2 separate regions of the Homo sapiens genome follow, and region 2 is linked to region 1. The links are contacts of gene promoters, found by promoter capture Hi-C in human tissues and cell types (Jung and others, 2019). All regions are on one chromosome and are shown on one strand. The core of a region is centred on a gene start or on the middle of the fragment in contact, and the rest is flanking DNA. Distances in the headings are between cores, read along the strand shown.

What was found. Contacts are between HindIII fragments. The study calls those that stand out against the background at their distance.
Region 2: a contact is called between a fragment that was not itself captured here and the fragment with the promoter of CST4 in region 1, in 1 of the 25 tissues and cell types used here (spleen).

Annotation. Positions count from the first base shown.
Region 1 is chr20:23,685,985-23,691,557 of GRCh38, forward strand. CST4 (cystatin S) reads right to left here and starts at 3,054. Exons shown (of 3, transcript NM_001899.3): 1 at 2,758-3,054; 2 at 1,104-1,217. The coding sequence starts at 2,985. The HindIII fragment of the contact is 7,573 bases long and covers 1-4,856 here.
Region 2 is chr20:24,013,826-24,019,398 of GRCh38, forward strand. No RefSeq gene overlaps it. Among named protein-coding and RNA genes, the nearest start is that of GGTLC1, 28 kb to the left of the region's middle. RefSeq lists an enhancer at 4,630-5,573. The HindIII fragment of the contact is 3,098 bases long and covers 1,796-4,893 here.

The sequences.
Region 1 (5,573 bases), core at 1,804-4,303:
AGGGAAGAGAGAGGGCCAATCAGTGTGGGTTACAGTTAAAGGGGAAGATGCCCAGGCATGAGATGTCACAGCCTGGGTGAGGAGGATGGAGGTGAGACACTGCACCCTCACCCACCCCTGCTGAGTCCCAGAGCACTGAACTAGAATGAGTAGTGACTGTACCATTACCCCTCCCAAGGCTCCAAGTCACCAGGTGGCATTGGGCCCCCACCCCAGCCTGCAGTGTCCTGTCCCATCACAGCCCTGTGAGGAGCAGCCTGGGCAAGGCCTCGGGAGCCCCAAGGGTGCAGGACATGGGGAGGTGGCTCAGTTCCCCCAGCTCCTTCCACCTCCAGCACCCAGGCCAGCACTAAGAGGGGCCAGAGGGAAGAACCCAGGGCAGGGCAACTCCCCCTCAAAGAGCTGGGGCATGGGTCAAGGGCAACAAGGGGAGTGCCGCTCTCCCCTGAGTGGAGACCTCACAAGAACCAGCAGGTTCTTGGAGAGGCTGGTGTTGGGTGAGCCGGGCAGGTCCAGGGCTTCCCAGCTAACAGGCCTCTAGGTCCCACTAATCTGATTGTGGCTTTGGCTGCATGCAGGTGCCTGAGGCTGGGATTAGACAGATCCCCTTCTCCCTGCCCAGCACCCAGCCCCGCAGGTGATTCTTCCTGTCCAACAGGCAACACCCCAAAGCAGGCAGTTGACCTTCTAGTAACCATTCCCAAGCTAAAGCCTTCCTAGCAAATCAAACACATCACCCCCTCCCTCACCACCCCATCTGCACACACATAGGCAACTACGTAAACTCACTTGGACCCCTCATCCCCATGGATCTATGTACAAACCCCCATACTTCCGCCACACACCCACACACAGGCACACATGCTTCCATACACCTACCCGCACACACTGGCACATGTGTGTACACACGTGCACCTTTCCACATGCACACCTACATGCACACCCCCCCATAAGTACATGAACACGTACACATCCATGCATACACGGCTCCCCACATACCCACCTGCACACACACACCGTCCAAACATGGGTAGGACAGAGGCTGACACATACGCACCCCTCTGCAGTGCATGACTGGCCCGGGACCCGCATCAGGAACGTACCTTCTGCAGTTCTGGCTGTTCATGGAAGGCACAGGTGTCCAAGTTGGGCTGGGACTTGGTACATATGGTGCGGCCCACCTCTACGTCGAAGAAGTAATTCACCCCCCCAAAGGTCTGCACACAGGAGAAAACAGGAAGCACGGACAGCGCCCCCATCAGTTCATGCACTCACAGGCACTTCACTGTGGCTGAGTCACTGGACTTGCTTGGGGGCTTCGTGAGCTGCCCACATGTCAACACAAGGCACACAAGCCCCCTCTTCCTGTCAGCTGGCAGGGTGCTGAGCCTCATGCCCGCTCTTAAACATCGTTTTCTCTGTGCTGGGTAAGAGGATTCATTGAATTCTGCTACCTGTGGCTCAGGGGTGAGGGAACACTGACTCTTTTCTAGGAAGGCTGTCTGATGACAAAATTTCAGCTAACTCACGAAAATCTTATTCCCTCCATTTAACCTAGATTTATTACTTCACTTAGAGTAGGAAATGAGATGCTTCACACACACAGATATTTTGGGTCAATGGGGCCGCCCAGATGCCACCATTTCAAGTGTGAGGTTCAAGATACGTTTCTCAAGTCAGCAGCACACCTGAGTGTCTTACAATTGCAGATTATAATTGAACCCTTTCCCTGCACAGGGCCTCTCCCAGACACTACGTGGCAGAGCTGTGGAGAAACCTGGGATGAGGGACTCTTTGGAACCAGGAGGAACTGCTGAGATCCCTCGAGTATCAGTTTACCCATGTATAAAATAGGCTTCCAGGTCTGATGGTCTGCAATGCCCTGTGCTTCACTCCAAGTTACTGTCATGCTTAAGAGGGAGATGCAGGCCAGCGGGGACCATGGCACCAGGGAGTGCACCTCCTGTGCAGGGTGAGGGCTCCAGCTGACAGCTGTAGGAGGAGAAACGGGACTGGTCTGGATTCCTTTGAATTTCTAGAAGGTGGAGGAGCTCTAAAGGCTGTGTCACTATTTGCTGCTCTGCCATGGGATGCAGGTCAAGCTGGGCCCAGTTGCCCTGCTGAAGCTCACTCTGGACCTAACCCCTCCTCTGCTCTGCTGGGTGACTGCTGTCCTCATCTGGCTGAGGTCTAACTCTGCATCAGCTCGTAGAGGCAGGGCCAGGCGTGCTCCACCCCAGCAGGGACTCAGCCATCCTGGCCTGCAGGGGTGGGTCAGCCTGCCTGAGGGTGAAGGCCACTAGCCCTAAGGGGCTGTGCCCAAGGGCATGACTTGGGGAAGGAAGAAGGGCTCTGCAGAACAGGGAGCCAGGTTCCCATGTGGCCCCTGAGGAGAGGACTCAGGGAGGAGAATGAGCCTCACCGCCTGGATCTCATCCTGAGCAGCATCAAGCCCACCCAGAGTCAGCACAGTCTCCATCCACACCTGCTGGACGCTGGGAAATGCCACGGTCATGGTACAGACACAGCAGCTGCTGCAGGTTAAAGGAAGCTGCAGCACTTCCTTTAACTGTCTGCAGTGCATGGACCGGGAGCATGCTTAGGCATGAAGGGCATCAGCGGAGAGTCAGAGAAAGCTGAATGAATCTGAGCATTAGATCATGAATGTGTCAGTGTTGATTTGCTTGGAATGCTCTTGGGGGTCCGGCAACAAACCAGGCTAGGGCTCAGGACCCCTCGGGTGGAGGCAGCACCCACCTGCTCCCTGGCTCGCAGCACCTGCAGCGGGCGTCTGTAGTACTCATCTTCGGTGGCCTTGTTGTACTCGCTGATGGCGAAGTGAAGGGCACGCTGTACCCACTCATCATTGAGGTCTGCATCATAGATGCCACCTGGGATTATCCTATTCTCCTCCTTGGAGCTCGAGGCCAGAGCCCCAGCCAGGGTAGCCATCAGGAGTAGCAGGGTACACAGAGGCCGGGCCATGGTCTCCTCAGAGGCAGAGCACAAAGCTGGAGCTGCAGGAGAGGAGGGTGAGAGCCCGAGGCAGGGAGCCCAGACCAGCAGGCAGGTGTGCATTTATCCTGCTTTGGCAGCCCAGCCCCACCCACCTCCATGCCCTGCCCCTGACTCCTCCTCCTCTTTCTGCCCATCCCCTCTTTCTCCATCTCTCTTTTCACTCCCCCACCACTACAAGCTCCCTCCCTGCCTAAGTTCCCCCTGCCCCTCCCAGGCCTCCTCCTCCATCTCCCCCTCCTCCCCACTCCAGTCCTCACTGCAGCCTCCCTGAGCCATGCCTCTCTTCCCCAGTGCTCCCAAGCTTGAGTCACCCAGGTCTCCACAGAGGTGACACTGGTCCTTTGACTGTGAAAGCAATGTGACTTCCTGTTTGCTCAGAAAGGGGAAAAATACAGGGCTTGGCCTCCCGGGGTCTTCAGATATCAGAGGCTTCCAGGAGCACTTGGTCACGGTCTCTGAATCTCTGGAACAGAGAGGTTATTTCAGAAGGTTCCAGAAGACCCTGTCCACACCCTAATATGGAGAATTTCTTTGCCAAATTTAAGGGAATTAACCTTTTTGGAAAAGGTCACTGGCTTCTGTTTTCATAACTCATTATTCAATAAACAAACCTATCACCAGTTACTGCCCATGCCAGGAGGTCTAGGGCTTGAAGACGGAACCTGGATGATGAGCCATAGAGGTGACATTGCAGAGCTGCTGCCCACAGAGATGTGACATGAACCCACAAGCATTTGAAAATTTCTAGTAGATGCATTTTAAAAGATGAGAATAAATGGGTGAAAGTAATGTTTAAAATATTTATTTAACCTAATATAGCCACAATATTATTTCAGCTAACGGGAACAATTATTAATGAGATCGTTTATGTGTGTTTTTTTTTTTTGGTTTTGTAAATCTTTGAAATTCCCTGTGTATTTTTTACACTTAGCCCAGGAATCATTTTGGACTGGCCCCATTTCAAGTGTCCTGTGGCACATGTGGCTGGTGGCTGTGGAACTGCACAGTAAATTCCTACACAGTGTGTGTAGAGGATGGTAGGTTACGATCAACAATTAGGATCAGGGAGTTATACTCACTCTGTTGGAAGTGAAATAGAACAGGGGCTAGAGAGAGACCACTGGACCCTGGTCAGGGTGGTCTCTATGAGACTGGAGAGGTTGAGCAGCCCCAGGCAGCGGGGAACAGCCAGTGCAAAGGCCCTGAGGTGGGGTTGGGACATGCCTGCTCCAGGAAGAGGAAGCTCCTGGAGGGGATGTGAGCAAGGGAGGAAACCACCTGGAGTCTCACGGTAACTGTGGGTGAGGACCGGTGGAAGGTGCACGGAGACCCCTGTGAGGCAGTGGGGGTGTCAGGAGAGGGAGCAGCAGCCACGGGATGAATGTGGGAACCCACAGGCCTCTCTTGCTTCTCTCCTAGGCAGCCATGCTTCAGGCTCCTTTCCTCTGTGCACTCCTTGGAAGACTCACGTGGCATTTTAAAAATTGCCTTAAATGAGGTAGAATTTACATACAATAAAATGCCTAATAGTATGTGCCCAATCTGGGGGATTTCATAAATGCATACACTTGTGTTACCACTTTGTCCAGACCTGTGACATCTGCCTTGCCCCAGACGGTATCCTCCTGCCTCTCCAGCCACCCTCGTGCCCGCCCCACCCTGGCAGCCCCCATCCGGCCCTGTAGACACCTTTGTCGCCTGTCCTTGAGCTTCCCAGGAATGGAGTCCTGCAGAGCGAGCCCTGATGTGTCTTCATCCTTTGCTCAGTGTGGCTTTCCAGCGGCACCTGAGTTGCTTCATTGCCAAGACTGTGAGTTCTCCTTCTCCACAGACTGAGAGGATGTGGTCAGTTGGGTGTCCTGTGGGCTGACAAAGCCCCCAGCTTGGGATGCTGTGGGCCTGGGCTGGAATGTGTCTCCAGGAGTGGGGAGGGTGGAAGGAGGCTCTGAACAGACAGCTGCTCTCGTTGTTCTCTCAACCCCACCCTCCATGCCTGAAGGTGACCCTGTGGCAAATGCCCTTATGGGGAGGTGGCAGGCTTGGCCAGAAACTCCAGGAAACCCTGGGCCTTAGCAGGACACCCAGAGGACTGTCTTGGGAGTGGTGGAGGTGAGGGTTGGCCAGTGTCAGCCCAGACCTGTTTAGAACACTAAACAATACTATAATAAACAAATGACCAAGCGCAGAAAGCATCACGTAAAGGTGCAAGTGATGAGGACAAGCTGGCCAAGAGTCATCCTGGGCTCGGACATGTCTGGGGATGGATCAGCAGGAACCTGGCAGCAGGAACCATATTACTTATGGGTGCTCATGTTCAGTATTACGACAGGGAACCTTGTTACCTGAGTCCTGGTGACCATCTCACCCCACTGTGAATCCAGCACCCCTAGAATAGCCATGAAGCCTGGCAGATACAGCAGGTGTCCCCATGGTGTTTACTGCTGGGTGAGGGAGGGAAGGTCTTCAAACAGAGCTTTACATATGCCTCCTAGTTAGACAGGAAATGGGGAGAGATTCCCAGAGAAGGGAAAGAGAGGGAAGTCCCTTACCAGGTG
Region 2 (5,573 bases), core at 2,095-4,594, 330 kb after region 1:
GGTAAGAATTTTAATTTCTATTTCATTTGGTGATATTTTGTTCATATTAGTTGTCCTGTGGGTTTGCAAGGAAATCCGTCAAGGTTACAAAAGAACATTTTATAACTCTTATTTTTAACCTAGAAATAGCAAAGAAACAAAACATTAGTACTGTTTTAAACATGGGTGGACACTTACAGCTCATTTGGCTTAAATGATGGCAGGTTATCTGTTAGCTGAGGATTCAAGACATCTGAGGGAAGAGTGGGGTACAGGGAGCAGCGTGGGGGCTGAAATGCACAGTGTCATGTGTGTGGGAGTGTGATGTGCATGCAGTGTGCATGTGTGTGTGGGATGTGTGTGATAGATGATGTATGTGTGCCTGTGATCTGGTGTGTGTGTATGTGTGTGTGCAGGTGTCTGCGTTGGAGTAGTTTAGTGGGAATCCCTGACTCCTGACAGCTGATCAAGCTTCCCACCTCCACCATCCCCCAGGAGATGTCTGAACCCTGTCTGCTTTCAGCAAGAATCCTACTAGGTCGGGTTAGCCAGATTCCCCCACCTACAGGCCGGATGCTTCCTCTTATTGATTTAGCATCCGCTGACCCCACCCTGCTCTTTGGTGAAAGTCCCCACTGTCCATGCTGTAGGAGTGACCCATGTTCTACTTTGAGGCTTCTTTTATCCTACTGCAATCATTCCTGAACCAAATCTATTTTTACAGCTTTAACTATTGTCCAGTTCTGGTTTTCTTTAGCGGAGGGAAGCAGCCAGGGGGGTCTCCATAGTCAACTTGACCTTGATCTTCATAAAGGTACGAAGGCACTTTCAGGCCAAACTTCTAGTGAACCTGGGACATTTTGGGAGCTAAGTGAGCTGCCAGCGGCCCTAGGATCAGAGTGGGGAAGGGACTAGGGTTTTCCTCAATCTCAGGCTTAATGACTGGGGGCATTTCAGCTCCACTTACTGCTCTGTCTTTCATAACTTTGTCCAAACCCTTTTTTGGGATTCTTCCAGAAGCAAAGGGAAGCACAGTGTTGATTACTCGCTGTGTGAGCAGTGCGTTCCCTTCTGTGCTATATGAGTACTTTGCTCACATCTTACATTTCACTTTACACATGTGTGTCAGGGTTTGGGAAACCAGTCTCGTTTTATCCTTGACTTTATTTTTTGGCATCTTGACTGGAGCATCTCTATGTGCATGCACCCTCACTGCCATCTCCTGGGTTCTCTGTTCCAGTGTCTTGTGGATTTTCTCCTCCCCTATTTCTGACCATGAAAGGCAGCATCCCCGCTGCCCTGCCCATCGGTGGCACTGCTCCCTGCAGTTCTCTGGCCAGATTCAGAACCCACAAAACGAGACCTTGTCTCCCTTTCCCTTTTCCAGCCCAGACTCAGACCCAGACCCACCCTATGCAGCCTGGGACACCCTTGCAATGGCTCCCAGCCTCCTCAGCTCTCTTGCAGCGCTTGTTATTGTAAACCAAACCCATTGCTTCCTTTCATATACCTGGTGCTAACCTAACCTGTCCTGATTCCCTTTCTCTACTTCTCGTGTCCTTCCAATACTTCAAAACTACATTTAATACTCCATGTTCACATGAATCATGTATGAAAAGAAAAGCTATTGATTTATATTTTCTTTTTTGTTGTTTTAATGATATGCCTTCCTTCGCATTCTCATTTTTGTATATGGTTGCCTATTACAGCAAGTTCCTCAAAGAAAAATGTGAAGTGATGTCTGTGGCTTTGTATTATAAGGTAGATATCTTAAATTCCTTCTTTTAAAAAATAACTATATCAGGTCATTATTTATCTCTAAAAGAACTAACTTTTATTAATAAACCTTAAGGCTCATTTGCCACTCTACCTACTCATAGGAACTTCTAATAAACTCATCTGTATAAGAGGAAACATCCTTGGCATGTCATGGGTCTTTGCAGAGATTAATGTAGTAAATAAGTTACATCGAACAGTTCCTAACTCTGCTCTAGTGACAACAGCAGCAGCTGGCCCCCTTGTCCTCATGCCCACTCCCTATACAAGAGTGGATTCTGTGCCCTTACTTAAGCATCATTGTCTCCTTGTGCAGTGTTCACCAGGACCCGCAGCGGGGTGAGTTTACTAAGATGGTGTTGAGTCCTGGTTCCCAAGGACAGGCCTCACAGCCTGTGTCAGAAAACAGCACAGGGGAGGTGTAGGTCCGAGAGGTGGGTTGTCCATTGCAGTCCACCTATCACCTTCTCCAGACAACACAGCGGGGCTGCTCTGTGCTAGGAGTATTATTGCTTTCTGAAATTGTGCAGGGATCTATGCACTGCTCCTTTTAGTTTGAAATACTTTCAGACTGTAAGCAGTTTAAACTAGATAAACTGTATTTCCTTCCAGCTAAAATATTCTCTCATCCTGTCTTCATAAAACCCATGCATGCAGAGAATCCAAAAATAAATCACGCAATGCATGTCACCTTCGTTTCCCATTGCCTTGCAGCCCAATCAAACAAAAATTCCTTAAACACAGCCTTATTAAAGTCACTGCTTTGTAACTGCTGGGAATATGAAACAAGCAATTTAGTCTCACTTGAGGGACAGACCCCACCTTCTGGTGTTTGATTCTGTGCCCTTCCTATCTGAACCACCTTCCTTGACGATCTCTGCTGTTAGCTTAGAAGGAAAACACTATCCATGATTGTTCTATGTTCCCAGCTGATTGGAGCTATGGAGGTGAGGTGTACTTGAAGCTGGAGAACCTCCTATGCTTGATATGTTTTATGTTTTGCAAATTCCTCTAAATACACAAGAATGCTAGTTGCTGAGACAGGCAGGACTGCAAGAACTTGGTATTTACCTAAGACCCTGTAGCACTTTTCTGTAACACTCCAAAATCCTGGCACCTCCTGGCCATCATCCTCACTGCTTCTCCCACAGAGTCCCGGTCAATCATTAACACCAGCCTCACTCATCGCTCAGCCACTCAGTACGACAATGATGGTGGGAACGCAGATCTGCTGTCCCTCTAATAACTGTCGAGTAGGAGATCGCAGAATGTCAGCTCCAGAAATGGCTCGCATATTTCCTGTGTGTTATTGCTTTTTAACCCAGATCATCTTGGAAGAGAAATAGCTTTCATTTATATTCTAAACTCATGCAAAGGGTGGTAAAGCTTGCTGATTCAAGAATCTGATTTATTTTACAGAAATTAACATAACCACTAAAATCAAACCCATTCCCTTCCCCAGTGTGGTTGCTAAAGTGGCCCAATTATGATAAAGAGAGTGCAAGAGTATGAGTCTCATTTTCTGCTCATCTATTTTATTTTGATGCCTTTATTAAATGCAGGAGGCACGGCTGCTCTGATGGGTCTCCTCCCTTCACTCCTCTGGAACAGCCCTACCTTGCCATCAGCATCTGGTTTTTTTTTAAACAATATGTCTTCTGATTTAAACAATGCCTTTATTATTGTATTAAAATATACATAACATAAAATTTACCATCTTAACCCTTTTAAAGTACACAGTTCAGTGATATTAAGTACATTTACATTGTTGCACAATCATCACCAGCCCCATCTCCAGAACACTTTTCATCTTCAAAACTGAAACTCTGTACCCATTAAACACTCCCCACTCTCCCCCTCCCAGCCCCTGGCAGCCACCATTCTACTTTGTCGTGACGAATTTGATGACTCTAGCCACTTACATAAGTGGAATCATTGTAAGTAATGAATCACTGGCTTATTTCATTTAGCATAATGTCCTCAGAGTTCATCCGTGTTGTGATATGTGTCAGAATTTCCTTCCTTTTTAAGGCTGAACACTGTTCCATTGTATGGAAATGCCACATTTTGGATACTGTCTTATTTCTCTACCTGTATTTCCTGGAAACAACTTCCCACTTAGCATCTATACCCAAGCTCTTAGCTCAGTGTGTGCTTTAGAGGGAACACAAATCAAGGAGGATTTACATGTTTTTTACCCCTTTGAGGTGTTTTAGACCCTGGCTTATAAGTGAAATCAAAAAACAAGGGAAAGAAATGCTGAACATGAAAAAAAAAATTCTTCTGAAGGAACAGAAAAGAATACCAGGGCTACTTAGAGAAAACTCAGGGCAACAGAGTTGATATAAGGGCGTGTAACTCATGGTAAATGCAAGGGGAGAGTCCACAGACTCAGCCAGAAGACACAGCAATCGTGAGTCGAGGCAAATGGATCAGGGTCTGTGGCCAGTGACTTCTTGGTGTGAGGGACCCAGAGGAGGCTCATTCCCAGCACAAGTCCCCAGAGAGCTGGACAACAGCTTAGGGCTCTACAGGGAGCAAGAACCTAGGCAAAGGTGATGGTTCTCAAGGACTCAGGTAGATGAGACAGGTGAGCAGCCTGCTCCAAAAGATAGGCATGAGAGTGAAATTTCTAATATTCTCCCCTGGCTGGTTCTCTCTTGGTCCTGGCTGGTGACAGCTGTGGCCAGTTGGGGAAGGATTAAAGTGGCAAACCAATCTGAACTTCTTAAAGTTTCCCCCAAATGTTATATTTGCTTCAGTGGATTCCACGGTTGAGTCTACAAATATCAGAACTTTGGGTGTGTGAGCTTGTGTTCTCTTTTCCCTTCTCTGAGACTGTCTGTGCAGTCCACAGTCCTAATGACCATCTTCCCATCCTTTGGCAGAGCGGCTGAGCTGCCATCAGGAAGAAAGGTCTTGTGAGTAGCTGCACAGTTCATCCCCACTGTAGATCACAGCTCAGGGCTTTTCCGTTGAGCACTACTGATTCATTCTGGGTTGCCCCTTAGTTCGATTATGAGGTGCTCTGTGTAACACGGCTGTCTCTTGTAAGCCTGCTCTTTCCAAGACAGAAGAATGAAGATGTCTTCAATAAAGGAAGTGGATAATACTGAGCCCTTCGTGACATCCTTTACAAGCTGAGCATGCGCAAGCACAGGGGCAAGTGCTCCATAAACTACCAAGTTTAGTAGGGGTGAGGAGGTCCTACTAAAGGACTGGAGAGACCAGGTGAGTGCAGAATGAGAGGAGCTCCTGGGGGTTTATGTGGCAACAGGGGCCATCCCCTGGAGGTGGTGCAGATCCAACAACCCTGCATCCTTTAGCCTGGCTGTTCTTTCACTGTGACTCGGAATGGGGAATCAGTAGCCAGAGAACAAAGCCTTGTGGCAGCTGCTCTCACAGCCACACCCACATTCCCTGGACACTGACTGCTCTCAAACCCTCATGTGGAGTACTAGGGTGTGTGCCGGTGACTCCCCAGGGCTTGCTCTCCCCACTCACAGGAAGTGCCAGAGCCCAATTCCCCAGGAGCAGCCTTCAGCCAAGGAGGATGGGGTGCTGGGTGGAAAACAAAATTGCCCTCTTCCTCACTTTTTCAGGCAAGTCTGAGACAAGTTCCACACCAACAAGCCCCCAGGTTGCATATGAGGTGCTCACAGCAGAGACCTGCTCATTAACTGCTTCCCCTCCTTCCCTGTCTCACTTTTTCACAAGTCATCTGTGTCTTCCTGGAAGCAGATGCTGGGAAGGAGTTAGAAGTGCAAGTAATTCCTTGAGGTGCATAATACCTGTAAAAGAAAACTGGGTGTGATTGT